Regions from separate parts of the Homo sapiens genome. Here regions 2, 3 and 4 are each linked to region 1. The links are contacts of gene promoters, found by promoter capture Hi-C in human tissues and cell types (Jung and others, 2019). All regions are on one chromosome and are shown on one strand. Each heading gives the region's core, a stretch centred on a gene start or on the middle of the fragment in contact. The rest is flanking DNA. Distances are from core to core; before and after follow the strand shown.

Evidence for each region. Contacts are between HindIII fragments. The study calls those that stand out against the background at their distance.
Region 2: a fragment that was not itself captured here is called in contact with the fragment with the promoter of OLFM4 in region 1 in 4 of the 25 tissues and cell types used here (H1 embryonic stem cells, aorta, dorsolateral prefrontal cortex and 1 more).
Region 3: a fragment that was not itself captured here is called in contact with the fragment with the promoter of OLFM4 in region 1 in 5 of the 25 tissues and cell types used here (dorsolateral prefrontal cortex, heart right ventricle, mesendoderm cells and 2 more).
Region 4: a fragment that was not itself captured here is called in contact with the fragment with the promoter of OLFM4 in region 1 in 1 of the 25 tissues and cell types used here (spleen).

The regions. Positions count from the first base shown.
Region 1 is chr13:53,025,614-53,033,613 of GRCh38, forward strand. OLFM4 (olfactomedin 4) reads left to right here and starts at 3,200. Exons shown (of 5, transcript NM_006418.5): 1 at 3,200-3,427. The coding sequence starts at 3,224. The HindIII fragment of the contact is 5,150 bases long and covers 1,682-6,831 here.
Region 2 is chr13:53,077,819-53,085,818 of GRCh38, forward strand. No RefSeq gene overlaps it. Among named protein-coding and RNA genes, the nearest start is that of OLFM4, 53 kb to the left of the region's middle. The HindIII fragment of the contact is 5,706 bases long and covers 312-6,017 here.
Region 3 is chr13:52,990,619-52,998,618 of GRCh38, forward strand. No RefSeq gene overlaps it. Among named protein-coding and RNA genes, the nearest start is that of OLFM4, 34 kb to the right of the region's middle. The HindIII fragment of the contact is 3,771 bases long and covers 2,292-6,062 here.
Region 4 is chr13:53,056,896-53,064,895 of GRCh38, forward strand. No RefSeq gene overlaps it. Among named protein-coding and RNA genes, the nearest start is that of OLFM4, 32 kb to the left of the region's middle. The HindIII fragment of the contact is 4,084 bases long and covers 2,858-6,941 here.

The DNA.
Region 1 (8,000 bases), core at 1,950-4,449:
GAAAACCAATGAAGCCATGGTCTCCATCCCTAAGAAGCTCAGCACCTGGCAAATTCTTCACACTTCAACCCATCTTGGGTCTCTGGAGTCTATCCAGTCATTTCTCAGTATTCATTTAACTGGTTTTGTGTTCAATTTGTGTTTATTCCTAGTATATTCCCTGAAGTGGCCTGCCTTCCGTAAGTGACTAGGCATTTTCATTAGAAAAAATTATGCATTCTTCTTTCCTTATCATCATAGGGCCTGATGTTCTGCACAGAGTAGGCTCTAACACACACTGTTAACTGAGGGACCACTTTCCAGGGTAAATAAATGGGGTCAGCTGATTATTACTTATATACACGATTGTTGATATTGCTAATAGAAATTTGAGGGTTGTTGACGATGTAGTCAACTGATATGAAAAGCCTCTATTACCAATCTGTAGACCAAACACAGCCTCTGTTTTCCTCATATACACCAGATACCCCATAGATACCCTCCTGCAAAAATGCAGCAGTATGTTTGATTTTTAATGACAGGAGGATTAAATTAAAGTTATGTCTACACGGATGTCTTCCTTGTGTGTTGCAACTGTTCAAGAAGTACGGTTTGGGGAGGTCCCCTAATGAAGTGCATAAATAGTAACTTTCTTTCAAACTGTCAGTGAAGATTGCTGTATTACTCATGTGAATTTCGGTGACCCCTTACTCTAGAAGGAGCCCAGGGTAGAACACATTTTTACAAATAATACACTTTGCTTTGCAGCTCTGATAATTTTGTTCCTGTCTTTGAGTCTGTCATACAACCAGGAGGCTGCTTGTTTCTTAGGACAAAGGTATTTGCAGGGAAACTGATCAAACTATTTTTATTAATAATCTCATTATTATTAATAATCTCATTACGGAGGCATCACCAATGCTTTTGTGCATTTGAGGGCTACCAAATAGATTAAAGTTTTATTCTGGAAACTCTGGAGCCATACAAGAACAAAGAAGCTTATGAGCACAGTGGGTGGTGGTTCTTCCCTGGCTAAGGCACATTTGTGCTTGGGAGAACTGCTGTCCCATTTCTGCAGTATTGCCACCCCTCTGGTAAGGGGTCTTCTAATGAATTGGCCATAGGAGACCTTAAAGGTAGTCATGACTACAGGCTATACCACTGTTAATGAGATTTTCTTTCTGACAGGGCACCAACATGCTCCTTGAAAAAAGGTACAAGGAAGGCTCATTACAGCCACATGCAGAGGCTACTAGCAAATGAGAACAGATTTGCCATTTGTTTTGGTGGGAATCGGGAGGAAGAGGGGAATTGTGCTGGGAGGTAGAGACACATTCTTCTCCTTATGTCCATATTCATTGCATTCAATCTTAGAATAATGGATTCAGTCTCCCAGTTTTCATTCTCACACATTCTGTATGCATTCCCTGCCTTGGACTGGGGATCTAAGTGGTTAGAACATTTGACCAAAGAGGCCAAGGCTGAACTGCTTCCCACAGAGAACAATGAACTTTACAGCCCACATTTCTCCCTATCTGTTCTTCTTCACTCTCTATCCATCCATTTGTGGTTTTCCTGTCTCCCCTTCCCCCTCCCCACCACCCCAGTTTCTGAATAGTGTACCAGGGGTTTAAGACCCTGTTTCTCACATTAGCACTGTGCTTATTCTGAGAGTTTGTGTGGAGCTTCTGGGGTGGGGTGGAGTGGGGCATGAACCTTCTCTCCTTGTTTTGAACCCAGCAATCTTACATATTGATCTAGTCTTTAGGAAATTAAACAAACAATGAAAAAGCTGACATTTTTATGGCACGTCAAAAGTCATAAGCAACTTCCCATACAATATTTCATTTAATTCAAACAATTTAGGAATTGTTACAACCCTAGAGGGGCTAAGTGACATGCTCAAGGCCACCGACTCATTGTGACACAGCTTTTTTGTTTGTTTTTGTTCTTTTGAGACAGCCTTACTCTGTCACCCATGCTGCAGTGCAGTGGTGTGAACATGGCTCACTACAGCCGCAACCTCCCAGGCTCAGGTGATCCTCCCACCTCAGCTTCCCAAGTAGCTGGGACCACAGGTGCATACCGCCACACTTGGCTATTTTTTTCATTTTTTGTAGAGACAGGGTCTCACCACATTGCCCAGGATGGTCTCCAACTCTTGAGCTCAAGCCATCCTCCCACCTTGGCCTCCCAAAGTGCTGGGATTACAGGTGCGAGCCAGCATCCCCGGCCCAGAGCTGGGTCTTAATACCGAGACTAACACCTTTTTCTTTCTCCAGGGAAGAAGGCAGAGGTCACAAAGGTGTGTGAAATGTTGAGCAGGGCAAATGGATCCTGGAGCCCAGGGTCAGAGCTGCTGAGCAAGAGAAAATGCATCTTATTTCTCAGTTTTATGAAGAATAAGCTTGAGATCTTGAATGCCTGGCTGGCTCACAAGAAGCTCAGGGGCAATAGAGGTCAAAGTTTTCTGGAGAGAGAAACTGCTCCTGGGGTCCTCCTTGACTGGGTTTGAGGCAGTGCCCTGGCCTGGGAGAGCGGGCACTGGGTCATCGGGATCCCTTTGTTTATTTGGGTGTTTTCTCTTCCCTATATGAAGCATACAGTGGTGAGTACTTGATAGGGCAGAGTCCTACCTGGTTGGCCAGGGAACAAAACGTTGCTGGTCTTTCCTTCAGAGTGGGGTTGTTAGACAACTTTGTCTAGAAACAGTCACTGTAAGGAACAGGTCAACGACAACTTGGGCAATAGGAACTGAAGAGGGAAGCTCAGTCGCTCCTGGAGGAGAGCCACAGTCCCTAAGGCAAGTTCCCTAACTGTCTGTGAAAAGTAGTATTCAGTAAAATGGGGGAGAGCACTAGAAGTGCTGTGAGGCAAAGGACTGAGGGTTGCTTTTCCTCCATGGAGCCTCCAAACTCTGTGTCATCCACAAAGACTACTTTGGTCTCATCTCTTTCAAGGAAGTACCAAGTGGGAAACCAAATATTGGGCTTTACAAAGCACATTTGAGTTAATGTTTGGCAGGGGATATCTGGATCCAAGGGCAGCTCACAGAGTGGGCCTCACTGACAAGGTGTGGGCCATGACTCAGATTCCTGGGTGTCCTGAACCTCCTGGGGCAGTTCACACGTTCCCTGGCCACTCCCTCTTTTCCTACATGCTGGCCATGGGGAAATCACCACTGGGCACTATAAGAAGCCCCTGGGCTCTCTGCAGAGCCAGCGGCTCCAGCTAAGAGGACAAGATGAGGCCCGGCCTCTCATTTCTCCTAGCCCTTCTGTTCTTCCTTGGCCAAGCTGCAGGGGATTTGGGGGATGTGGGACCTCCAATTCCCAGCCCCGGCTTCAGCTCTTTCCCAGGTGTTGACTCCAGCTCCAGCTTCAGCTCCAGCTCCAGGTCGGGCTCCAGCTCCAGCCGCAGCTTAGGCAGCGGAGGTTCTGTGTCCCAGGTGAGGAGGCCCCAGAATCTGAATGAGCTGCATTCATTCCCTTCCATTTGCTTTTGGGTACCTGAATACAATTTCATGGATGGCTAGACCTGGGCACTCTAAAAGATTTACGACTCATTTTGTTAACTATAGGTGCCCCGGAAATGAATTAAAGCCTCAGTAAAATAATTAAATTGTTAGCAAGAGAGACGATATCGCAGTTCTCCAGCTGGGACTTTTGGGAATATCTATGCTTTAGAGGAATTCTCAAATCTGGCTGCACATTAGAATGGGTGGCCGGGGGGACTCTAAAAGTACAGATGCCTGGGTTCTGTACTTAAAAAAATCCTACATAGATGTATACAAATCAAATATTTTAAAAAACCTCTCCCCAGGTGATTCTAATATATAGTCCAAGATGGGAACTGTTAGGGAAAGACTCTGTGAGTTGCAGCTCTGGGAAGTTTGTCCAGTTGTTTTGCTGCCTGGCAGGATCCCGGAATGGTGAACAGTAGCCCTCGAGGGAGTGAGAGCCGCAGTGCCCTAGTTGAAGCCCTGACCATTTCTCTTGGCCTGGTTTATAAAGGAGGTGGGTGTCAGAAATAAGGGGGGAGTTACTGGTCTTTAGCAAAGTGTTATTACCAGTGGACATTCGCCTAGGGGAGTGTTCACTCTTTGCAGTCTTCTTTACAGGGAATCTTCAGGACCATTTCCAGCTCCAAACAACAGTAGCAACAAACAAACAAAACCAAAAGTCATGCATTACAACGAGGCTGGTACAGCTAGGCTAAGTGCATTGAAGGCATAGTAAGCCAGTTCCGTGGGGGATGAGTCCTCTTTGGATCTCCTTTAAAGAAAGGAGAATGGGCTGGAGGGCATGAGAGGTTAGGAGGTAAGAAGCAGTTATTCATTTCACTCTGGGCCTTTCTGCGGGAACCCCACTCTGCAAACCTCCTAGGCTATTTTTGCTAAGGTATAACTTGGGGTGGGGGAGTCTTATCTGGGCCAAAGCTTCTCTCTCTAAGCCTCTAGGATCTTTCCTCACAGGTCAGGTAGCTGCTTACATTATCATGCTTGAATGGAAGGGCAAATGGGAGAAGGGGGAGGAAAAGACTTTTATTTGTTTTATTTTGACCATCAGAAATTACAGATAATAAAAATGTGATAATTAACAAATGATTTGGATAGGGCCTAGATAGAAACAGCAGCAATAACATTTACTGTGTGTCTAATAAATGCCAGGACTAGGTTAAGTACATAATATATATCTTTTTGTTGTTGTTGTTGTTTGTTTGTTTTTTGAGACAGAGTCTCATTCTGTCACCCAGGCTGGAGTGCAGTGGCACGATCTCGGCTCACTGCAACCTCCGCCTACCAGGTTCAAGCGATTGTCCCACCTCAGCCTCCTGAGTAGCTGGGATTACAGGCACCCGCCACCACGCCTGGCTAATTTTTGTATTTTTAGTAGAGATGGAGTTTCACCATGTTGGTCAGGCTGGTCTCGAACTCCTGACCTCATGATCTGCCTGCCTCAGCCTCCCAAAGTGCTGGGATTACAGGCATGAGCCACCGCACCTGGCCTGTATTATCTTATTTAACCCTAAGAGGTAGGTACAATTAATGGTCCCATTTTAGAGATGTGAAAACTAAGGCTTATCAAGGTGAAGTCATTAGTTTTAAGTCACTAAGCTAGCAAGTTATATAGCTCAAAATTAGTCTGTCCATTCTCTTCACCATGTCTGTACATATAGGTTTCTATATTTCCAAGGAGTATAGATGAAAATTGCTTATTTTTTAGTTAGAGGAGGGAGGCTTGGGAATCATAAGTAGGCACAAGGATTCTTTGCAGTCAGAAATCAGTTACATAAGTTTATTCTGTGATACTCAATGATTTCTGGGGATGATCAGAATTGTCTAGCACTCTTTTTTGGACTGAGGTTAACAATAATAATTTATTATGAAGCTCCATCACCAGTCAGAAACCAGCATTTGGGTAAGATTATCAACTATAATAATAGAAAATAAAATACAGATCAAGAAACAGAGAAATCCAGAATGCCTATTGTCTGGTAAAAAGACAGATATTTAAAAGTAGATGAGACATGGTAGTTAAATTGGACTTAGAGGTTTTAATTTTCCTTTTTACTTATCTCTCCCTGGTGAGTCAGTATCACAACTCCAACTTTTTTTTTATACTGGACTAGGAGTCAATTTCACTATCAACCTAATTTTCTGGGGCTGGCTGTCAGCTTGATGAGCTCTTTGGAAGGTGGTAGAAAACCCTTTTATAACTGTCATTGAGTAAGTTCCAAACATATCATTTTCTGTACTTTGAAAATGTTGAGTACCATTATTTTATACCTTGAATCTTTGCTGACACTTAGCCTTGGCTACTAATTAGAGCCAGTTGCAACATTAAATCACCTTAAATGTGAGTTGCACCTTCTGCTGTAAGCACTCAGAGTACTCTCTGCCTCAGACGTCTCCCTCCTGAGGAGGGGCCTCTGCAGGGTCCTCAATTCACAAGACTAGGAAAAGCCTCAATGCTCACTCCACAGAGTAACTGGTATAGTTGGAACTGCAACGAGTCACGTGTTTTCTTGTCATCAGGCTACAAGGCTGGTTTGAAAAAACAAGTAGGGCTTTCAGAGTGACAGTGGGCCTGATTCCTGGGCAGAAATTGAGTCTTAATCATCTCCCTAAAGCCAGAACCTGGCATAGTGTAGACATCAGTAAATGTTAATTGAACACGTGCTTAGGGAAAACCTACCAATATAAGGTGTCTTGTGAGGTACTCAGGGTCCTATTTGCCCTACAGAAGGGGAATCGCATATTCTTCCAAAGGCCAAGGGGACAAGCTCTTGTCTTTGTCTCCCATCCCCCATGCTTCATTCATGTAGAGTTTGGGCATTCACCGCAGAGAGAGACTCATCACCATTAGCTTCATTGTCTTTGAATGCGAGGAGCAGAAATATCTCTAATGGGAGACACTGATCAAACTTATGGACCATTTTGATGTCAGCTGAGCATGCTGGGCTGATGATAAGCAGGATGGAAGCTGGGGGAGTCCACAGCTTTGGGACAGAGATGTTCAATAGAAACCGATGGAATGGCTGACAGCAGGGCTCATAATTACTTGTCTGTCTTTCAAGTGAACTTCAGGACTAAAAGTTGTTAGCTAGTGGTTCCTAATTGACTGTCTAGAGATTGCTTGATGATATCCACTGTTTTCTGAGTTGGCAGAATTTTTCAGAGAACTCTGAGAATGGCCCAACCCTGTTTGTGCAGCTAATTAAACTCCCCTTGTTAAAATGCAATGCAAGATTTTTTTTTTGCTAGACTGTTATTATAATAAGCTATTTCTTCAAAAGTCCTTGATATGTCGGTCTTTTCTGTAAAAGCCTTGGCATGCTTGAGTTGGAGTCTTTCTATCTTTGGAGAAATGAGTAAAGCTGGTTTCAAGGGAAGCTGGCCTCTCTGATAGGTTCCTGGTGTATCTTACCGAGTCTTTATTCATCTCTGGCAAAGACCCTTCCCCTATTCAAACCCTGCTGTCCACCCCTATGTTCGACATAAATCTGCTTGTTTCTCCTCCCTACTCCTGAACTGTTTCCCACGTAGGGATGTGATTGGAAAAGAAAATTGAGACCAAGGTAATAAATTTTGACTAAACACATAAAAAATATGATTGGATACACACACATATTTTTTTTTTCTGCTCATCTTGAAACTTAAATTAAATTAAAAACAACTTAGATGCAAAAGCCTTGATTGGCCCCGAGGCCAGTGATAAAATAAGTCTTCATTATAGAAGCATCTAGACCCAGCTTGATCAGGCATTATGGAGGTTGGTGGCCATTAAATGCACAGGACCCATTACACCACCTGCAGCTGGCTGACCTGAACTTTGAGAGACATGGCCAGAGTCACTTCTGGCTCTGAAGACCATTGCTGTCTCCTTAGAGGTTTCATAAAAAGTCCCTTCAGGCTGATGTTCCACAGGTGAGCTTTGGGTTGGCTTTCAGATGAGATCATTAAAAGGCACAGCAAATTGGCTGCCAAGGGTTACTCTGTAAGGCAATAGTAGTAATAAAAAAATGTTAATTGTGCTGGGATCCTCTTGGGGAAGTTCAAAGGGGACAAAAGAAAAACAGGATCTTTCAAAAGTGTCATTTAAAAATATGCGGTGGCACTGAAGTGTGAGTCTGAATATCTTAAATGAACATAAAATATTTTAAAATGACTTTTTCTGCAAATGGTAAGCTGGAAAAAAACTTTTATTAAAAAAAATTGCACAAAACCTTCAAGCTCATACGCTATTCACTTTCTAACAAATGGCTGGTTCCCATTTTGAAGGATGTTAATTTGCAATTTCCCAGGCGATGAGAGGATATGAATTTGCATCATATATTTTCACTGTAGCCCACATCTTTGGTGATTCCCTCATTCTGATGAAAAGGAATTGGATTGGGTTGGGGTGAAGGTGAGGAAGAGAAAATGAGCAGTAGAAGGAAAGAGAATGTGACATTTTCAGATCACCTACTCTGTGCCAGGGACTTGGCTCACATTACTTCGTTAATACTGAGGACAACCC
Region 2 (8,000 bases), core at 1,915-4,414, 52 kb after region 1:
GATGGTGCTTAACCATTTATGAGAAATCCACTTACCTGCCACCAGGCCCTACCTGTAACATTGGAGATTACATTTCAACATGAGATTTGGGCAAGGACATACATCCAAACTAAATCAATCACATGAGTCAGTAGTAGATTCCAGAGGAACAAAAGGATAGAGAGATGCTGGCTGCCTAGAAAAAGCAGAAAGAAGTCCAAAAGGACTTCTGTCTCCAACCCCCAAAGTTTCGGGGGGAGAGCAGGATAATTTGAAAGGAGCTCAAAGCTGCTCTGAGGCTCCTCTGAAATCACCTAGTTTGCAATTTTTTAAATTTAACAAATATTTGTTGAGGTTGCAGGCACTATTTTGAGTTTGAAGGATGAGGAGTAGGGAAATAAATCAACATATTCTCTGACCATAGTTTAAACTTAATGACCAGTATAGTTGACGTAAACACAAAGAACACAAGGTGGTAACGGGGAAGTCTGGCTTATTTGGAAGTTATCCAGCCTCATGTTCTCAACTTGGAGCACTGGGGTTGAGTCCTCCTTCTAAATTCCATTGTGGCCTATGGTCCATGTTGGTGTGTTCACCCATGTCTCAGGCTGGGGACAGGTTGATAGAGAAACTGTTATGAAGCCTTATCTTCCCTGCTTAGTGTGGGAAATTCTACCCAGGTCTGGGGGACTTTAATGTTTATAACAACTTACTGTTTTGCAAAACTTGTCTTTCACTTCAGAGAGGCTATCCCTACGTACTCCTAGTCATTAGGTTTCCCAAAGCTTTACATCATGGCACTGATTTTTGGCCATAGTACCTGAAAAAATGAACTCATCCACATCTTTATTCTTGTTCCTTTGGGGAAAGAGAACTAGAAAAGTGCAGAAGGGCCATCGGAAGCCCAGCTGCCCATTTAGTCCTTCTTCGTGTTTGCTTTTGAGGAAAGGCAGCCAGTCCAGATAATTAGAGTCAGAATTCTGATGAAGGATTTGTTCAAAGTTCAGTCACAGTCTGGGATGGAGAACTCTGCATGCCCACTTCCCTTGTTAATAGCTTTGCTGACCTTCTCCAAAGAAAAAGTCATTAGAATGTTGAGTTATGATCTGTTTCTTGTAAAATCTCGCCAGTCACCCATTTATAGCTCTGTATTTCAACCAATTCTAATTACCTTTTAGAATATACTTCTCCCAGCCCTTGAAGAATATTGTAAACCCTGAACCATGCAATCAAGCATACTTCTTGGTTAGAAAGCTGATTGTGACCTAATATACACACAAATCTCCACAAACACCCCCTCCCGTTTCCCAAGAGCCACATAATCATCTATAGGGCTCTCCAGGGCTCCAGAGAGCTGGTGTCATTTGGTTACTTAATGTTGGAAGAGGACATTTCATGGAGAATGTTTTGTGTCAGAAAACTAATGAGGAAGAGCAAAACACTCTTGTGTCTCTTGCTATCATTTTCTGTATCTCCCTGGGGAAGCCCTCTCCTTCCTTCCCTTTACTAAGCATTGTCTGAAGTTAGTGTCCATCTTCTTCCTCCACCTCTGGAGAGTGAGGTGAATCAGATCAGAGTCCATGGCGGAACTTGAATTATGGGGTTCTTGCATCAGTCTTGCTTTGTTCCTACAAAATAGTCACAGACTTAAAAAGCTATCTCTGTTGCCTTATAAAGTCAAGAGCTCCTTGGTACATCTTGAACTTGGCTGTGTCTAGTGGATTTCTCTCTACTAACCCTCTGCTATATATTAGTCTCTATCATTTGAGACAATTCAAATGACTCAAAGATTTTTGGAGGTCTCTGTATTTTTTAAGAAATGCTTTGAATAGGATTAAAATCACTAGCACTGCTGAGAGGAAACATTTTTATAGACTTTCTAAATCTCTCCACTGCTGAGAAGAATTAAAAAAAAAAGCAGCAACATTTCTCTTGTCTCTTTATTTCTAATCACTTTTTCCTTCTAACGGGACTGGAGCACCATGAGAAATGTCGGTCTTTTACGGCAAGGACTCATTTGCCCATAACGAACACTGAGTACAAAAGCAAATTAAAAAAAAACAACCCTATGCTTAGAGAGACCATTAGGAACGATTTGACATTTATTGAACAACAGATGGCGATTAAAAACATAAAAGCTAGATTGCCTTGCTAGAAACAAAGGGTAGTTCTACTGAGGAAGTCTAACGTTTCAATTAAAACACGTCTCAGTGTCAATTAAATCATATGAAGATAAGCCTGAAAATGGTTTCTAGCTGCACTATAATCAATAGTGCAGTTAAAATCCCCATCAAGAAGCACCCAAGTTTTTAGTTTGACAGTTTGCTAAAAGATTAGCCAGAGCTTCAAGAAACCATTTCCTTCAGTGTAGGGTTCAAAAGGTAAACATTTAACCAGGAGTGCTTCATATGTATTAAACAGATTTATTTCCATGATGAGAAGAAAGCCTCACTGGCTTTGCTTTGTTTCAAATCTCATCCGCTTTTCAGTATGGATTAGGCATTAGTGAGGGGTGGAAAAATAACCCCATTATTTCCACAACAAGGATCTTGTTTTAATGACGCTTATATTCTTTTGGGAAGCAGTGAGTTGGAGTGGAGAGACAGAGGTGATTTGGTAGTGAGACAGACCTTGAGTTGAATCGCAGCCTGGTCACTTTTAGCTAGTGTGTTGAATGATCAGAATCTGTTTTCTCATTTGTAAAATTTCCATACAATATTACCTTTCTTGGGTTGCCTGGTACATTCTAGGGACTCAGTGAATGAGCCCCTATCTTTAGCTCTCAATTGGCTGAACCTTGTGACACAATCTATTTTGGCAGATCTTACCAAAACTGAGCTCAGTGGATACCAGTTCTGCTACATGTTTTATGCCAAACGGTTACTGTGTGTTTTGGGTTGAAATGTGTCCCTTCCAAATTCATATGTTGAAATCCTAATGCCTAGTACGTCAGAATGTGATTTTCTTTGGAAATAGGGTTGTTGCAGGTGCAATTAGTCCAGTTAAGATGAGGTCATACTGGAGTAGAGAAGGCCCCTAATCCAGTATAAGTGGTGTCCTTATTATAAAGGAAATGTGGAGATAGACACCCACACAGGGAGAACACCATATGGACATGAGGCAGAGATCGGGGGAATCTACAAGCCAAAGAAGGCCAAAGATTGCCAGCAAACCCCCAGAAGCTGGGGAAGGCAGGAAAACAGATTCTCCCTTACAGTCAGAAGGAACCAACCCTCCTGACACCTTGATCTTGGTCTTCCAGCCTCCAAAGCTGGGAGACAATAAATTTCTATTGTTTAAACCACCCTGTTTGTGGTGCTTTGTTACAGTGGTCCTAGCAAACTAATACATGATGTCAAGTACATTTGGTAAAAACTGGTACAGCACCCTGCTTTTGAAGATTCTTAATGGAACACTTTACCAAACTCAAGTCTCTGAGATATCATACTAATAAGAATTATCTCCATCTTTATTCAGTGTTTCCCAAACATTTGATCATGGAAGACTTTCCTCCCCTGAATAAATACCGATTTGCTTACTTTGGGAAAAAATACTCTGAAACATTTTGCCTTTAAGCCTACCTCCACCTCAGCCCCCCAGGCTTCTGCTTCAGCTCTGGCTCTCTGGCCAGCTGCAACGCCGCTTAACCATGTGCTCAGCACCATTGCAGAGTGAATGGTGATCCTTGTCCTTTGCTCACTTTGTCGACAACCTTCCCTGGTGCATTTTCTCCCTTTCCCCACTTCTGCTGTCCAGGTGTGAGGTGTTGCTTGAGAAAGCCATGAAACCCAGTCAAGTTCCATGGTAGTCCAATGCAGTGCTTTTTGAGCTGAGTCTCCACTGCTGCAGCTGCTGCTGAGTCCTTATATTTTTGTGTTTCTCTATTCATCATTTGGCGTGTGGCCTACTGTGAGCCAGTTCTCTTGCTAGTGATTGGGAAGGTAGGTGAGGAGCAACAGGCACCGAGGCATCCCTTCTCTCAACTGTTGATGGCATTGCAGAGGAGATAACCTAATAGTGTGAGAGAAAAGCCTTAACAAAAATACCTTCATGTTGAAACAGAAAGGGGAATAAAGGGCGAACAAGAGTATGCTAGCCAGACAAAGGTAGAAGATTGTATTTCAGGCAGAAGAAATAGCACGTGTATTCAGGATATTTCAAGTCCTGGTCAGATGTTAGGTTGCAAGTTTGGGGAGAATAGGATATGAAGCTAGGAAGGAGACAGGGATATAAGCACTACAGGCTAAAGTACTTGCCATTTATCTGGGAGGGAATGGGGAGTCATTGATCACTGCACAGAGATGAGATTTTCATTTATGAAAGGTCACGATGGGATTGTAAATGATATTAATTCTCCTTGTCATTTTTGGTGCGTTCAAAATTGTCATTCAACTTTCGTTTTTGAAAATGTTATATAAATGTTGTGTAATTATATTTTTATTAAAAAGATTAAAAAATTTAGAAATATATGGAGAAATTTTGAGCTTTTCTTATTACTCTCCCCATCAACTTACATCCCCTCCCAATAGGTATGCTTTATTGTTCAGTCCCTCATTGATCTTTCTATGCATCTGTGGGTATGTATACACGGACACACACATATACATGCTTGCATATACACACACATATACACACATTTGTATACACACATTGTGATTCAAATTTGTTAATTAAAAAACACAAATACAATCATGCTGTGTCTGTCTTTGGTGATATTTTTCACAATAACAATGTTCTGGAAGCCTTTCACATACGGGTATCTTATTCTTTATAACGGTTTCATAGTATTCCATAGAATGGATGAAACAGTTTATTTTAGCCACTCCCTCTTTAAATAAAAGTGTTTTTATAAGAATTACTTCAAAGATATTTTGTCTATACATTTTTGTGCCCATACACAAATATTTCTTTAAGATTTCTAGAAGTATATTTTTTGATCAAAGAGTATAGCATTTAAAATCTTGAAAATGTAGTCAAAAATGACTTCTAAAATAGATTCAGTTATGTACTCTTGTACTTGTTTTTCAAAGAATGAAATTATCAATATTTTAAATTTCTTTGAATTTGTTGGGCTTAAATTTTAAAAATATTCTTTTTCCTTATTTTAAATGAGGTTGAGAATCTTTCCTGTGAACGTTGCCTATTTTTATTTATTATTGTAAATTGCCAGTTCTTATCGCTTCTCTATTTTTAAAATTGAGACTTTCATATTTATCTCATTAACTTGTAGAAGTTTGTTATATAATTTGAATGGTAAATACTCTGTCATTTTAATAATTAATACTTAATAATTTCTTTCAATATGACACTTTTCTTCTGACTTTATTTTGACTTTTACTATTAGGAAATTTAAAATTTATATAAAGTAAATCTGACAGTTTCTTTTATGATTTCTAGGTATTGCCTCCTGCTTAAGAAAGAATTTCCTAGACTAGAATAATTTCAAAATTATATATTTTTTATTGCTTTTATAGTTTCTAGAACATAAAAGAGTTTGTTTTTGCACATAGTGTGATCTTGGAAACTAAGTTTTTTTCCCAAAAGCCTAAATAATGTCCCAACACTATTTATTGAATAATAAACTCTTATAACGAGAAAAATATATTTCAAAGAGATATCTCAATTTAGTGTCACCGTACAAACTGGACTGGAAGGGATCGAGGAAAACAGTTGGGAGATGGACAGGAATGCTATCTTCCTTGTTAAAGCACACTCCAGGATTTGTTACTAAAAAGAAAGCTTTCAGGTCAGAAAGCTAACAGCCTAAACTAAGGAACTGGCTTTGGCAGCCGTAAAGGTGACTTAGAAAAGAGGCTATAAAATTGAAAGAGCTTGAGGAATAGAATAAATAAGAGTTTGTAACTGATTGAGAGACAGGGAGGAATCTTGTGTGATTCTGAGGTTTCCAACATTGGTAATAAGTACTAAGGAATTTCCTGGAAAAGAGAGTAGATTGAACACACTGAAATATGCTTCCCAACCTAAATTCATAGAAATGCTAGGCAAGACAGTTAAAAAAATTTAAAAAGTCACACCTCAAAGCAAGAAGGGAGTTCTCCAATGCTAAAAACAAAAGGGGAACCCAAAGTAATGAGTAGGAGACAAAGTCAACTTGCTCAAGGGAGGCCTGAAGTCAACACAGGCATTAGCAGCTATGTTTTCAACATTACTGTGGGGACAAAGTTAAATTTATAAGCTCTGGGTCAGGGTAGACTCAGAAACTGGATTCCTTGTATGAGGCTTTGGGCTAGAAATGTGTTTCCCCTCTCCCCCCTTTTTTTACAGGGAGGAAAAAAAAAACCATTGTCCACTAGACAGAGGTTATAGCCTGAAGCAAGCTTCTGCCTCAGACAAGGGTTGGAAATAATCTTACCATGGCTGGGTCTCAGTTCCAGGACTGTGCCTCAGTTCCAGGACTGCACCTCAGTTCCAGGACTGCCTTGCACAGGTTTAGGGCCCAAATGTGTGCTGCCTGTGTGACACAAGAACTCTGAGGCCATGAACTAACTTAAAAACTGGTCTGGGGCTGGTTAAGCTCATAGTGCTTTGGCAGAGCAACTGTAAAATTGGCCAATTGGAAGACTAAGAAGTAGAAAAATTAGAGCTAGATAGATACATACATGAATTCCACATCTAGACACTTAATAGTGCAAGTGCAGAATAGCAGTTATAATGAGAAATCCTAAAAGCCAACAAAGAGAAAAATAAAGAGGGTAACTGTAATCTCACAGTAGGAGTGGCAGCATACTTCTCTGCAGCAGCAATGGTTGTCCTAAGGTAGTGGGTATATTTTCAAAGTTACCAGGGCAAATATTTGGATTGCTAGAAATTTATAATGAGTCAACCTAACACTTATGTATGTATGTATGTTTGTATGTATTTATTCATTAATTCATTCACTTTTTCTTTTTTTTTGAGATGGTCGCCCAGCCTGAAGTGCAGTGGCATGATCTCAGCTCACTGCAACCTCCACCTCCCAGGTTCAAGTGATTCTCCTGCTTCAGCCTCCTGAGTAGCTAAAATTACAGGCACCTGCCACCATGCCTGGCTAATTTTTGTATTTTTAGTAGAGAGGGGGTTTCACCATGTTGGCCAGGCTGGTCTCAAACTCCTGACCTCAGGTGATCCACTCGCCTCAGCCTCCCAAAGTGCTGGGATTACAGGTGTGAGCCACCACACCCAGCTGAATCAGCCTAACATTTAAGACTGAGGATGTTTTGCACTTCTTGGAAATGTATCATGTGCTTGTTTTACTGATTTGAAACATTAAATAGAAGAATGAAGGTAAGATAAAAATATTTTAGGCCTACTAGAACGTAGAAAATTTACTGCTCATAGTAATATTAATGGATTGCTGTCATCAAAACAATTACTAAATGATAAACTTTAGTTTGAATAAAAAAGTATTCTGAAGGAAGAAGTGAGATGCAAGAAGCAAAGGGAATAAATGGTGGTAAATCTAAACAGACATTAAAATCAATGAGAATAGTAGCAATATTGCTCATAATATGCTTCAAACAGGAAGAAATCAAAATATCAAAACAAACAAACAAACAAAAAACCCACCATAGCACAATAACAGAAGAGTTAGTTGAGGGATTTCTGAGGAGAGTTTATGCAGAAGTCCTAATTTAGTTTGGAAGAAAGACAGTTATATGTACTAACTGACCCTCTGAGAGAAAATACTCAAATTTCTCTCTCTCTCTCTCTCTCTCTCTCTCTCTCTCTCTATATATATATATATATATATATATATACACACACACATATATATGTATATATATGTATATATGTGTGTGTGTTTGTGTGTATGTGTGTGTATACACATATATACATATATATGAAAAATTAGGTATTATTGTTGAAGAAACAAATACAGACCCTTTAACTTTAAATGGGTGAAGGAAAATAAAGAATATGAAGAAAATGTGATTGATTAACAGAAACCAGGAGAAGGGAATAAATGAAGCATAGCAAATAGAAAACACCAGCTATAACGGCAGAAATGAGTTCTAACAGTG
Region 3 (8,000 bases), core at 2,927-5,426, 34 kb before region 1:
TTGGTACGGTACTGATATTCTATACAAAGCCAGCAGCTCAAGTGGCTGTGCCCCTGCCCTCCAACACACTGCCCCCGGATGGTTTTACTTGAGACAAACCTCTTTTACTTTAAAGAAGGTTTTTATATTGGAACTGAGACTTCTGATAGAGAAATATTTGCTTTGTTTGATACGATCTTGGCAAAGAAGGTTCATTTTACCAGTTGCTGGCTAATGTCCTAGCTTGGGAAGAGCAATAATCTCATTAATGAATTATCTCTTACTTACAAGACAAACTGGACTCATTTGTTTCCTTAAAAAGACGGTGTCATTGATTAAAGATGGTCATTAATGACCACTAATAAATGCATCTGTTCACCATTCAAAGATGTTTGATATTTGCATTTAATGCTAGGAAGCAAAATAGACAGTTCTCTGGATAAACCATATGTCTCCAAGTTATCTTAAGGATGGCCTCACAGTTCTAAATGGTAATAGTAAAAAGTATTTAAATACACCTGAATTGAATACATAGGCATAGAAATATCCACTTGTAACTCTTAAATTGGGAAGTGATGCTAACTCTTTGCTAAATTATATGCAGAACCTACTGCCAGTGATCATGCTATTGAGGATACAATTCACAAGCATGTTGATATCCAAGATAATGAGTCTGACTATAACAAAGCACTTAACTGAAGCTCCACAGCCAAAATGGAATCTATCATGCCAATTCAGGAACCTAAAACCAAAGTCGAATGCTAATTTTTACAAAAAGGCATCAAAGTTTTCATTTTCTAAAAGTCGACTGAACTGGGTTGGATTGAAACCCAAGCCTATGCATTATTAAAATAATTGAATTGGGCTATCAAAAAAAATCAGACTGAAGTTGAATCAGACTTCCATATGTTCTTGATTATAGATAACATGTTCCTCCTTTATAAGTTAAATTGGGGTTTTTGAGAGGGAATGGCAGTTGTGCTATCAGACAATGAAATGGTGGGACTCAATGCGATTAGGCTTTGGAGGGAAGGCATAGATGTGCCGAGAATCACAACGTGCTCCCTGGCCCTCCTGTGGTGACCGTGAGTGTCCGTGCTTCCTTTACATGCCATCTATGTGTCCATCTAATAGTCTACAAGATAGTGTTGGCTGAATTCAGGGTTAGTCATTGTAGCCTGGCTGGGACTGACCATGTGGGGGACAAAATCAGCTGGACTGACTGAGTCACAGGCCACTTATTTGGGGGCGTAGAGCCACATCCTGCCGGTTGTAGTTTTCATGAATGGCCGAGGAAACATTTGCAAATGACATGGCTTCAGAACTCCCACCGGCTGTGCTATGTTTTCCGGGTGAGCCTGATTGCTTTTGGCTCTACCCAGTGCAGTGTTTTCCATCAAATCAGTCTTTCCTCTGCGAGGGTATTTATTACGTGCCATTTTGAAAATAAAATAAAAGGGATGTGGAGCAATCATCCAGCAAAACCATAGAACATTTTATTATCCTAGACGGTGAGGGGTCAGGTTTGACATACAACGCTGGGAGCGGCGATGGCCGAACAATGTGCTACTAAAGCGTGATTTAATGAGGCTTGGAGGATTTAGTTCAGTCAGAAAAGTTCCACTCTGTCTTGGGCAGAGGAGAAGCTGAGCTGGTGTGGTCAGCTGACCTAGCGGCTTCTCACCAGGTAGGCCTCCGCCGGCAGCCTCTGTTTGTTCGGATCCCAGACACAGTTGTCAGGGAGACTTGAGTGCTGGAAACCTCTGACTGATTTAGTGGACCCCAAACATGGCGCAGCTTCCCTGTTGCTTCTGTTTTACAAGGCCAGCAGTTAATTCAACAAAAGCCTGAATTCATTTCCCTCTATATGCATTGACTGTCAGCTAAGAGCTGGCGGCCATCAACTTCATTAAAAAAAAAAAAATCCCATTTCACTGGAATTGAGGGCCTTTGCCCTCTGACACATGGCAGCATGCTCTCTCGGGCAACACTTTTTGTTTCACACTTTTCCAGGAGAAAAACTCATTAGCAGATAGTGGCTGATCATCAAGTCATTGCAAGTAATCATACACATCATTCTGATCCAGCTGAATTAAATCCACCAGTTATACTTCATTATTGTGTTGGCAGAACCTCAGCCTTTGAGTTATGAACTAAGACACTCAGGGACAAGTTCAAGCATCCTTTTGTTATCTTCTTTATTGAGTTAGATGTGTTTATTGAATATTTATCTAGTAACTATGGTATGCTTGGTTCCATGGGGAGTGAATGGGGTGTAGAAGAGCTGAAAGCCCTGGTTACTATCCTGCAGGGGCTGATGATCTAGAAGGTGAGATAGAACACACATAAAGAGATAGGTAACGTTGCACTGTTACATAACCTACAGGCTTTGGGGGAGATGGCCTTGGCCTAAGATAATATGGTAGTTATCAAGTGATACTGTGTCACAGAAACTTTTATAAACATAAAGGTTTAGGTTCCCCATACCAGAGAGCTTGACTCAACTGATCTGTGGAAAGGCCTGGGCAGCAGTACTTGGAAAAATCACCCTAGGTGATTCCAGTGTGTGGCTAAAGCTGAGAACCACTCATCTGGGAGAGAGATGGCTTGGTATTTGGTTTGTTTTGCTTTTTAAAATTTAGGTTCTACTCTGGATTTTGTCCCTCTCCAGGTAAATAGGTGCTTCCTTATATACATCTCAATTATTGCCTCACTATCTCTCTATAACAATCTCTTTACAAATCTATTCATCCAGCAAGCCTGGGAGCCTCTCTGAGGGAAAGGACACAGAGTTCTAATCATCCTTTTATTCTCGGAACTTGGCACAAAGAAGATGCCCCATGAATGTTTGTTGAATGAAGGAGTGAAGAATGGGCTGGTTGACCTTGAACATGATACATAAACTCTCTCCACTTAGGAGCTTTTGTTTCCTGGTTCATAAAGACAAAGGGAGGGAGAGATTTTGCTCTCTCTCCTTTACCTTATAAACATTCTGCACAGCTATATCAGAGGTAGATGCCTTCCCCTGATGATTTTGAAGCCCTTTTAGAATAAAGGTGCAATGCAAATTCTGGGCATTCTCATGGATAATTGACCCTGCAGTAGTACTTTTGTTCTCCTTTTTTGTATCAAGACACAGGTGAATTTTGATGAGCTTGTAGAAGCACTGCTGCTGGTACAATGGTCTACTAATGTCATCTAAATGAGATGGATGACTTTTAAAATATTTGTAATATAGCTAGGGCCCAGAATGTGAGAAGGAAATAGCAGCCCAAGAGGGTAGTCACAAGGCCCCAGTAATGACCCAGGGGTGGGGGCTGGGGGCTGGTGGTCTCCCCACAGTCCTACTGGCTCATTGACCTCTAAGTCATTCCTCTTTTATTAAAATGCTCTTTTCAAATCCTATTTGCCAATGCATTTATTTACTTGCTGGGGAGGGGTTCAGGAGTGAGGAGGCTAGTGTTTCCAAGAACATGTTTAGGACACCAGCATTTCTAAGAGACCTGTGGTTAGAAATCATCTACAGTGACAAATTAACCATTGATGTCTTTTTTTTCTTCTATGAATTAGTTTAACTGCATTTACAAGCACCTCCCTCACTTTTGCCTTACCGCAGCCTTTAGTGTGATAAAAATTAACACTCAAACTCTAAGCCACATATACTAGATTACAGGAAGCCTCTGCTTCTCAGAAAACACATTGGCCATTTAGGTGCTGTAAATATTGTGCTATGGGTTTCTGAAATCCAGGCTTCATTTGTTGATTTGGGGTTTAGAGCCCAGAGACGAGACTCTTGCAATGTCTTCATCTTACCTCTGCTCTCTGAAGGCTGAGCTGAGGGCTGACCACCCTCAGCTCACTGAGAAGGAGCTGACCTTCTGCCTTATATTTAATTAGCAGATTTTCTCCTTTGAGATCAAAATGCCCTTTAAAAAATGTTCAGGTGAGAAAACTAAGGTCCAAGGGCATCAAAGGTCACCCTTTAAGTTTTTTTTGTCTCTCTAGAGTGCGTCTTTTCCCGCGGTGCCTCTTGCCTATTTATTTTGGAAGAAAAAATAACATGAATTCAGACTGTCACTTGGGAAATCGGTATTATTTAAAGGTGAATTAAACATTCCCCTCTTCTAAAACTACTCTGGGGAGAGAACAAAGGAAATGTCACATGATTGTGGTTAACACAAAGGTTTTTTTTTTTCTTTTTTCCTGGTGTAATGGTAAGCATGTCATGATGAAGGCAGGTTTTGTCAAGACAGCAGGACATAATCAGCGATAGTAATTTCAAGGATTTCAGAGTGAGCTGTGTGGTTAGATGGAAGTCAGTACCCCAAAGCATCAGGCTGGAGTCAGTTCCTAATGTCACAACACTTCAACTTCTACCTTTAGAGCAGGGTGATTCTGCATGTCAAATCTTGAATTTAAATGAATGTGAAGCTCTGTTGGCAAAACCTCACTCCTCTTTGCAGCCACAGCTGGGCAGCCACCAGAGAGTTTTCAGGCTAGACATGTTTTCCCCAACATCTGTCAGCTTAGCTAAATCAGAGCTCCAAATGAACAGTGTAATACCCAAGATCATTATCTGGATTTGTGACACTCCCTCCTACTTCTCTCTGGAGATTTGGGATTCAAAGTGAAAAACAACATTTGTAAGGGATCAGGAGGGGGAGGATTTTCATCTTTATTATTATTACTAAGTAATAATACATTTTCATTAACATGGTTTTAATAGTATGAAACAAGAGAAGTGAAACATGCCCTCTCCACATCAACATGTTCCCCAGTGCCTTTGGCTTAAGGTACAGTATCTGCAACTCATTCAATCCAAGATAAACCTATTAATTAAGCTTGAGTCTACAGGTGCGGTCTACACAGCTGTAATTTTCTGTTCTGAGCTAATGGAAAATTTGCAGATGGTCTAGGGGTTTAGCATGTTTTCGCATCAAAAAGATGTGGTCTGTGCTCCAGGTAGAAGGAGAGAGCTAATCCACTAATCAAGTCAACAAATATTTATTGAGTGCTACTTGATGCTCAGCTAGATGCTAGTGTTGTAGGGGATCCATGATGAGGAGAGCTTTTGCTTTTAATGAGGAAACATGACTCACATTCAAAAGCAGCCTGGCATTGTGGACAGAGCACAGCATCTGGAATGAGGCTGACCTGGTTTAGAAATCCAGCTTAAAAGTGGTATGATCCTGGAAATTTCCATTTCACATGAAAGATACCTCTTTTCTTTATATTAAAATAGGGATATTCGTACCTTTAGAGTTGTTGCAAGCATTAGCAATAACATTTGTAGCAGAACTGGCATGTTGGAGACACTCCAAAAATATTATTCTAAGATGCTATATCATATAGCATGTTATAATTTGGCCCTTAATAATAGTTTTATAAAGCCTCAGAAACTAGAGAGAACAGTTCCAGCCAGAATAGATGGGTAACCACTGAGCATAACTAAGGTAGCACTTGGAAATGACAGAATCAAATTCCCGGAAGGGATCTTATAGGTTTATTGGCCCAATCAAGTCATTATAGTACAGAAACAGAGGCTCAAATAAGTTCACTTATCCAAACAACTCAATAGTACTGGGAGCAGGTGCTGGGTTGGACTACACATATGACCCTACTTTGGGAGACGGTGCTATATAGAATGGTGGTTCCCAAGCCTGGTGGAATATCAGGATCTCTTATGATCTTTTTTAAAAATTGACTTTCAAGTGAGCCTGATTCAGGAGGCTTAGAGTGAGGCTCAGAATGAGGCTCAGGAATATGTCTTTTTCAGTGAGTTCCTGCCAGCAGATCCACCCACTGAAGCAGCATAAAGAGCCTTGAACTAGGAATCTTAGTCCCAGCACTTCCCGTTTGGCTGTGTGACTTGGGCAAGGCAACCTTTCTATTCTTTGCTGTCTCATCTGTCTCTTGAAGGGATTTCTTTTGTTGAGATTCTGGTCACCTCCATCTCTCATAATTACTCCATTACACCATTTCAGCTCAAACTGAAATTGAAGTTTGAAAAGGATCAGGCTTGGAGATAAGGAGAAGGCTAGCATTAGTGGTATAGGGAAGGCGAGACTGAGTGTAGCCTGGCTGGGGAGATTTCCTATAGGAAAGGAGAGGAAGACTTGGCCACGGGGATGGAGGAGGTTTTCAGTATACAGAATTCTGCGGGGTGGATATGGGTTTTAGGCATTGTTTTATAGAGGAGCACTTCCCAATATATATACATATATATATTTTTGGAACAACTGAGCCTTTGAGATGCTCTAAAAGAGATCTTGGTGTCAGTAGGTTTGGGAGATGCTACATACATGTACTCTTCATGGTCTAGGAGATTCATGATGCATATTGAGGGCTCTGAGAAGTCTGATTAACCTTACTGAGTCTGGAATGGTTTTTTTTTTTTTTTTACTAATTTACTTTTCCATACAGCACTTAAAAAACAACTATTAATGAATGTTCCAACAACTATTATTTAACATATTTGGAAAACACTTAGAAATGACAGAATCAAATTTCCAGACATGTGACCCTTATAGAGAACAAGGAGTCATAATAAGTTCTGTGCTCAGTTTTAGAGAAACCTGGGGGAAAAGATCACTTGAAAAGATGCTTAAGGAGAACAGGAAATGAACTGGAATTTCTCAGCTTAGAAAAAAGAAGCCTTATGCACTACATTTTTAGTTTTATGAATTGGTATAATGAGGGATATGATTGATTGATCTTCATATTCACTGAGCATAAAGCCAGAAGAAATGGGCTTAAAAGTCAGGCCAAGAGATTTAGAAGTAAGAAAAAGGAAATCTTTCTGATAAAGGATATAAACTGGAGTAGTTGATCTAGGTAAATTTTGTAATTTCCAGAATCTCATTCATCGTCAGTAATAAAATCAGGAGGATAGACTGACAACTCAAGTTCCCTGTACCTTCTTGCCTATCTTTTGATATTCAGGGACCCATGTACGTACATGGGAATCACAGAGCACCCCTGCAGTCTACACAGAGATCCAGCAGCCTATAAACCTTAGATTTGGAAAGAACTCAACATCTGGTCCAACTTTCTATCGAAGTAGGAGTATTTTCTGCAGGAATCCTGCCCTGTGGCCTTCAGGAATATGCTGGGAATAAGTCCAGTACTTGGAAAATCATTACTTTTCTAGGCAGCTCATTTCATTTATGATTGGCTTTAATTGTTAGAAAGGCAACCTAGTTATTTGTGTTGGAGCTGCACAAAATATGCTTGTTATTATTTTTTTCCCCGTGGTATGACCATTTAAATGTTTGGAGATGAATGTTGTATGTGCACTAATCTTTCTCCAAGACAAGTAGTCCAAGCTTTTAGCCATTTCTCCAAACATGTGGTCTCTAGAAACTTCACCATTGTCTGTAAGTTTTCCAGTTTGAGAATGTGCTTACAACACCGTATCTAGAAATAGAGAATAGGGTTAATCATCACGAACCACACCTGGGTTATGACCTCTTTTGATCTAAGCAGAATCTTAATGCAGAGAAGCCATATGTGCAGGGCAAGTCCCTCAGAGTTCATACTCTGAGCCATAAGACAAGTCCAGTATGTCCAGAGGGCTGGGCTGGCAGATCCATTTGGTCTATTTACATATGGAATCAAGAGGCCACAGAAAGAAAGCCACCATAATGTGAAAAAAAGTTGATGAGCACCAGTGTGGCAGGATAATGGACTCTCAGGAAAGGGCATTGTGGGTGGGAGTTAGGAGTTAGAAAGGGTTGAACCTATAATTTCTCTAAGTCATCAAATGTAATAGCCAAAGCTGCTTTGTCAACAATATTAGGGGTGAAAGATGGAGATTCAGGAGGTGTCACAGCAGCCTCTGTGACACATCTTCCCAGGAGTTACACAACCATTACTAGGAATGGGAGAGGAGGTCTCAAGGGGAGTGTACGTGAGACATCCCTCTAAGATGACTCAGTGCCTTAAAGAAACACTGCTTCATGACTTACTGGGACCACCCCTCATTCCCTCAGACCTCACTAGCCTGGAAATATGGGCCAGAT
Region 4 (8,000 bases), core at 3,650-6,149, 33 kb after region 1:
TTTTAGGCGAGGCAGGGTTTTGTCATGTTGGCCAGGCTGGTCTTGAACTCCTGACCTCAGGCAATCCTCCCACCTCAGCCTCCTGGGCTCAGTGGTTCATGCTGGGATTATGGGTATGAGCCACTGCACCTGGCCCCAAATGAACTTTTGAAGAGGAGCTGGGCTTTACAATTTATAGCCCCTCCCCGAGACTTCATCAGAGTCACATGGCACCACGTGGCGAATTTCTCTCCGGTGATCCATCAGTGTCCTAGGAGAGCTTCAGGCCCCTCAATTCTTTTTTGTCTCTGGGTAAGAATCTCTTCTGTTTCTGGGTAGAACTGAAGTGGTTTTGTTGTCTGGGGCAATACCCAAGGTTCGCTGTCTCACACCGAGGAAATCAAGGATGTGGACACACAAGAAGTGAGGTTAAGGGTGGAGATGTAATAGGTGAAAGAAAGAGAAAAGCTCTCTCCTGCAGAGAGAGGGGTCCCAAGCAGGTTTTCTACTTCTGCAGTGAAAAGCAGTGGATTTTATAGATGAGCTTGAGGAGGCAGTGTCTGATTTACATAGGGCATGAAAGATTGGTTGGACCACGTGTGCCATTTGCATAGGGTGTGGAAAGCTGGCCTAATCTTTTATTATGCAGATGGGTTCTCTACCTGGCCAGCACCATGTTGCCTGTTTCTTTACTGTGCACATGGTGACAAAGAAAAGGAAGATGGAGCCTCCATGTTGAACATACCTGGCCCTCAGGTAGTCCTTTTCTATTGGCACAGCTGCCGGCATTCCCCTGTGCAGGTTTCCAGCTTGCTTATCTATGTCTACAGCTCGATTTTTCAGGCTGCTCTTTGTTAGAAAAGAAATGATTTTGGGGTTGCTTTTTTTGTTAAAAGGAAAATTCTGCCAAAGGCTCTTTTATCCTATCTGCCTAAATAATTTCTATCTCCTGTATCAGAACCACCCAGAAGCTTCCAGAATTTGGAATATCCCATACCCCCTATTTTCTCCTGTTCATCATCCCTGAAATACTGGCTGAAACTTTTCCCAGGAAGAATTATGGGGTTATTTGGCCAACAGGTTACTGCTCTTGGGAGGTGACAGTGCAGAGGGGGACCCTGGGGTCTTCCACAGTCCCTCATCTCCACCTGAAGAGCATCCTGACAAGTTATGGTAGTTTTCTTATTCTTTCAAATGATACCACGCAGTTCATCAGTTTTCTCAGAACGATTCTTGGTGGAGCTGCACTACACTGAGTTTTACAGCCCCACTGAGATGATCTGTTGCTTGCTGGAGCCTGGGTGGCAGATTTTCTAGCAGGATCTGAGAAGTCAATGAGTGAAGGCAGAACTGCCCTGGAGAGGAGGAATTCTGGCAGCATAAGCTCAGGGAATTAGTTTGGGAAAGAAAGTTTGTAATAACAGTGTTCTAGTTCCTGCTGAATAAAACATTCAGAGAGCTTTTCTTCTCCCAGCAGAAAAATAAAATACTCTGGAGGCAATAGGATAGTTGTTCTTTTTAAATGTTGTTTTTCATAAAACTCAGATGGTTGCAGTCATCTGACCATGACACTGTTCTCCCTCCTTCTCCTGCACTGGGCATCTTGTGGGTGTGTGTGAGGGAACATGTCCTGGGGCTGTATCATGGTTCTCTCATTTAAGCAGATGGAGAAACAGCCATTTAAATGAATAGGGCATGAGCCCAGAGAAGGTATAACCAGCTGCAAACAGACCAGTAACTATGGTTGTTACACATCTGGTGGGTAGTTCTATAGCGAAGCAGATAATGGGACTGGTATTTAAATGGCCATTAGTAGACTCTGACTCTGCACCCAATCAAGAAGTACCCTGGAAGCTCTCTCTCAGTGCCGCTCTGCTGTCATTTGGCTGCAGATTGGGCCAGCAGCAGAGCTCTGGTCTGCATGGCTGCCATCATTGCCGACGGGGAGAAACTTCATTTTTGTCGTACTGAAATAGGGGATTCTGGAGTGGGCCCCCAACATCCGTGAGGCATCGCAGAGTTGTGCGTCCTGTGGCCCTCTCCTGCACAGGTGAGAGTGCCAGCTTGGCAATCATGCACCTCCGGCGTCTGTCTCTCATCAACCTTGTATCGATAAAGCTGTGAGCCAGTTAATCCCAGGGATTCAATTCGCATGAGTGCCAGGTTATTCCTTTTAAGCCCTCTGGCAAAGTGAAGAAGGGGGAGGTGCTTTTTCATTATGAAGGGGCCTCACAAGAGAACGGAGGCAGCCTCTGCCCACCTGGTGTACAATTCCGATTCCGTGGCTGCTGAGAGCCATTCCTTTGCCTCAGAGATTTGTTCACAGTTAAAATGCAAATATCTTTGGCAAAGAGAATTTATTCAGAATGCTTTTTAAAACTTGCCTGAAAAGTTTGAATAATGAGGAGCATAAAGACTTTGAGGAAAGTGGAGCTTGGTATTGATGAGGAACATCTGGACAGTTTAAGGGAAAGGAAAATGAGACAGAAAGGTTGGAGAGACACCTTTTCCTACCTTTGCTGGGCCTCCTTTCTCCACCCCTTCTCAAGAAAAAACTCTTTTATTTCCCCTTGTTTTTCATGAGTATTAACAACAGCAGGTCGGGTGCAGTGGTTCATGTCTGTAATCCCAGCACTTTGGGAGGCAGAGGCGGGCGGATCACTTGAGTCCAGGAGTTGAAGACCAGATTGGGCAACATGGCAAAACCAAATCTCTATAAAGAATACAACAACAACAACAACAACAACAATTAGCCTGGCATGGTGGTGTATGCCTGTAGTCCCAGCTACTCATGAGGCTGAAGTGATAGGATTGCTTGAGCCCAGGAGGTCAAGGCTGCAGTGAGCCAAGATCACACCACTGCACTCTAGCCTGGGCAACAGTGAGACCTTGCCTCACTCTGTTCATGCTTGTTGTCCTGGTATAATTATTAATAGTGAGCACCTTTTACTCCCAGAAGGCTTCCAATTTGAACAATAAATCCTATAATCACGCTATTTATAGGCACCTCATAGAAAAAGGATATTTGTTTTGTCACTTGTTTCTCTCTTCCTTGCTTTTGGTCTGGTTTTGGGGAAGCTGCAAGGAGACACATGCTTCTACCTTCACATAGCAATTCAGTGACAAATAGAAACATGAATCAAGTGGAAAAAAAAAAAAACCAAGGCAAGCCTAAAATACATCAAACTGCACCAAAAATGCAGATTGAAATGGAACACGTTGTCTGTGGGTCCCTGATTCCTCCTCAGGCCCCCGATGCTGGCTGTGATCACTGCTTAGCACTAAAGCCGCAGGCCTGGCAGCAGGGACAAGGCTTTGGAAAATGGCATGGCAGGCTAGTCTACTTGTGGCCCGTGGGCTGAATGGAACTTTTTTGGGGTACAATATGCTGAAGATGTGGCTGTGTGGTAGTGTAGATGCCCAGTGGGTTCTTGCCCACTGTCTAGACAGTAGGGGTATTGTGTGATGGAGGTACTCAAAGTAGGGGGAGGACAAAGTCATATCTGCTTCCAGCACCAGCAAAGTGAAGGGTGATCACTCGTCCTGGCCTCTCTGTAGAAGAGGGACTTTGGAGATATGTGTACACACACATGCATGCATACGCATGCACACATACACACACACACACACAAAGCAGGCACTCAACATATGGGTGAGCTGATAGTATGACATAGTGTAAATAGATCTGATTTTGGAGGCAATCAAACCTGAGTTCAAATCCTCCCAGCTCCACAATTTATGAGCTGTGTTACCTTGGTCAAATTTCTTAAACACTCTGAGTCTCAGTTTCCTTTACTATGAAATGTGGTAGTTGTGAGGGTTAACTGATATAATATATTCCAGTTTTTAGCACCGTGTCTGCCTCATAGGATGGTCAATAAACGTTAGTTTCCAATTTATCCTCATCCTGTCTTCCAGTTCTAGTACTTAAGAACCTTTAAGCGCAGCAGGGGGAGGCTTACACAAGAGAAAAATGTGCTGTCTTCTCGCCAAGGGAGTATGCCCACAGTCAACCTTTTATTTAGTTTCAGTTTTTATACCTATTACAGGCAGCATCCAGGTCTAGCCCCACTCATCCAACTTCATATATTCCGTAGGGCCTAGCATGGCCTGGCTCCCGGCTTACGAAATGGCAATTGTATGGCTGCTGAACAGAGGAATACAGTTGGGTAAAGAACAGGGAGTGTTTTGTTTACCGGAAACCATGCAGCTCAGAGTTATGTTTTGATTCCTTGAAGTTCCTGCAGGTAGATCCTGTAGTGATTTAGCACGGGTGTTTGTCTTTCAGACACTGCTGAAGGCCTGCTCCTCTTTCTACTTCTTGCTATCCCCAAACAACAAGAGGGTAACAGGATCTGTCTCCCAGAAAACAGCCTGCTCTTGGCCTGTTACTATTGTGCATCCTCTGGGTTTGGCCTTGACTCTCCTGTGTGCAACGCTGTGAGCAGAATATCAATTGGTGTAGAGGAGAAGCAAGCCAGGCACTGCCAGCCCAGAGCCTGCATTATCGGGGAGAAATCATGCTACATCACAGAAAATAACTTCTTTTTCTCACTTTATAAATTAGCTTGGCAATTTCTAGAATGATGAACCCTTAGGCTCACAGATCGTGCTTGTGAAGAGTGGGGAAAAAGGAACCAGAATGCAATGCTCTTTGCAGTTCCAAAAAAGAAGCCTGGTGGGAATTACTCTGGCAATCCCTAGGGTACCCTATTCTCTACCCTCCCTGACTCCACTTTTTTCTCCTTAGTTGCACCCCTATTTTGGTTGCTCTATTGCAGAAAGCTTTGGCTAAGACATGGGATCTCAGTTGGGGCTTCCAGGCTGGGGAGAAGGGCGGGGACCCTGCTTTTTACAGGAGAAGGACCGTGCAAAATGCTAGATTCCTGTGCCTGATAGTCGACTAGCCTTTTCAGATATGGGTTTATCCAGTATATTGATTTTGTCACAGAAGCATAAAAGCAGAGATAATCAGAGCTAGAAATGAACCAAAACATCATCTAGACTCACCCCTTTGCTCCATAGATAAGGAAATTGAGACCCAGAGAGGCTAAGTGACCTACCCAAGGTTTTCACACAGCTGACAGGTGGCCAGGCTGGGCTGGATCAGGAGCCTGGGTGGGCATCAGTGTGCTTCCCCTTCCTTGCTCTGCCTATCAAAGAAACAGGCTTAGGCTTCCCAAGGGGAAAATGGGTGGATTTTTCTCATTTCATTTTATTTCAAAGTAAAAAACACATTCTTATTTGTTCTTATTCTACTTGCAAACTCTAATTACTAGTTCTAGTGTTAACTACTTAACATATTTTACTTAATTAGCTAATTACTAGCAATGGAAAGTAGTTTTCTTTGACCTTTATATCCACATTCCTCCCACCATAAAGAAGTTGGTGTCTTTGGTATTGAGTGGCATTAGCATAAATGGTGAATTACTTGGCAGAAAACCATAGTCTAGCTCCTGAAGCTCATGCTTTTCTCTATTAAACACTCTGTACTCCTTTGTAAAGAAAGGGCAATTTTGAATTGAAAGCAGTACACACATACATACATACTGATCATCGGGGAGAGTTAATGTCGTAACTAAGTATAGAGGAATTGGGGCTCCTTGGGTCTGACTTCAAGTTTGGCTTCAAAGTCACCGGATAGGTGACTTTGAGCAAATAACCTAAGCCTCTATTTCCTCAGTTGTAAAATGGTTGTGATGATTGTGCTTATTTTGTAGTCGCAATGAGGATTAAGTGGAGGTGATATATATGTAAAGTTCTTAGTACCGCACCTGGTAAATACCAAGTCTTCAGTAAATATTTGTTAATACACATGTATCACAGAAAAATTGGGGAGCTCACACAGATATGAAGAAGGAAATAAAGTCTGCCTTAGTCTTAGAGACTGCTTCTCTTCCCATTATGTACAGACTGACAGAAGATATAATTACAGACACATGCTCCTATCCTAATGTATGTATATTTTAGTCAGCTATGAGTTCCTAATGTATGTATAATTTAGTAGGCTGCTTTTTTCATTTAAAATTCTTTCGTGGACAACTTCCCTTATTTTTAAAAATCATGATTTTTGAGGGGAGGAGGTAATTGTGCAACTTTATTGTGGCAGTAGCTAATGAGTACAGGGCCCTCAAATCTTTAGGTTTTATCTCATTGAGTAAAAGTGATTTTTAATGTCTACAAATTATTCCATAGACATATCATAATTTATTTAATCATTTCCCTATTATTGCAAGTTACTTTGTTTTCCCTATTTTATTTTTTGGCTTTATAAACTTCTGAGAATATAAATCTTTGTCTGCACTTTTCATCATGTTCTTAGGATAGATTAAGTACATTATTGGGTCAAAATACAAACACTTGTCAGAATCTTAATCCATACTGCCAAGTTGCTTTGCAAAAAGGAGCAGCGCTTCGCTTTGTAAAGCTCATTCCCCAAAGCTGCACAGGCCAAGGTTTCCTACTGGGCTGTTTTTGTGAAAGGGGTAGTCAAATTCCTAACTAATATCCTTGGTCAATCAGGAGTCAGTTTCCTCTTCCTTCCTCTCCTGGGCTGCGTCTAGGACAGTTGGAAATGTCTCTGGTTTGGGGATCCTTTGGGACCTCCTCCTAAGAAAATCCTGTGTATACTGATTTGGAGGCTACCTAAACCTGAACTTGACCTCTAAAGCTCAGCTAATCTAATCCTAAGTCTTCTGATCAGTGGGATGGCATCCTCCATCATGCTTGTATTTAAAAACTTTCAAAACAGTCAAGCCCGTGGGTTCTTTGCTCGGTCTGCTGTTGGATGGATAATATCACTTCTTTGCTAGAAAGTTACTGCTGAAGTTTACCCTCAAATCCTTAATGAATTTGGTCCTGGCGAGGGTACTCTCCAGGCACTTGGCTTCCCTTCTCAGTGTGTGGGCAACAACCCCATCACAGGGAAGCTTTGCTGATGCCCTCTCTGTGTCCGGTACAGGGAATGTTTGTTACCTGGCTTGGGTATTGTTAAGCTTCTTCTCCATCTTCTCTTTCTTGGATCTAGAATTTACCTTTCCTGGAATCCTTTCTATTCTCATGGCTGATCCTCTGCATTAATTTATGCCTCAAATGTTGCATCTTTTTTTTTTTTTTTTTTTGAGATGGAGTCTCACTGTATCCCCCAGGCTGGAGTGCAATGGCGTGAACTTGGCTCACTGCAACTTCCACTTCTCGGGCTCAAGTGATTCTCCTGCCTCAGCCTCCTAAGTAGCTGGGATTGCAGGCATGCATCACCACACCCAGCTAATTTTTGTATTTACAGTATAGGTAAGGTTTCACCATGTTGGCCAGGTTGGTCTTGAACTCTTGACCTCAAATGATCCACCTGCCTCAGCCTCCCAAAGTGGTGGGATGACAGGCGTGAGCCACCATGCCCAGCCAAATGTTGCATACTTAACTAATTGGTTTCTCTGCTGCCAACCTCTGCTTCCTCTAACCTGTACTGAACATAGCTGGCAAATTAATCTTCTTTAAACATGGTCCTGAGGCGTCACTCTTCACTGATGACCAGACTAAGCATACTGTCAAGGATATCCATTGTGTAGACCCTGTTTCCTGGTTACCCCATTGCATTTTCCACCCAAAAGGCATTACTTGCTGTTCTACAGTGGACCCAATCCTTTTCAGACTTCTTACTTTCCCCTTGCTTAATTGCCATCCCTTTACCCATGTCTCTGTGTTGAAATTTCATCAATGATCAGTGGCTATCCCAAACGCTTCTATGTGAAGCCTGTCTTAACCCTCTTCACTAGAATGAAAGCTTGCTCTTCATGAATACCTATTGCATATTCCTCCCTCTTCTCAGTTTGCTCTGTGTTAGAATGATTTCTTTGGCTGGAGAATTCTCCCTTTGTCCCAATCTTGGCAGATAATAAACTCCTGGAGGGCAGGACTGTGTCTGCTTCCTCTCTGTAGCCCCCGCATCACCTGAGAAGTGCTTTGTATGTGGATACTCACATGTTCTGAGACAGAAGTCCTCAGACGCAGCCCTCCTCTTG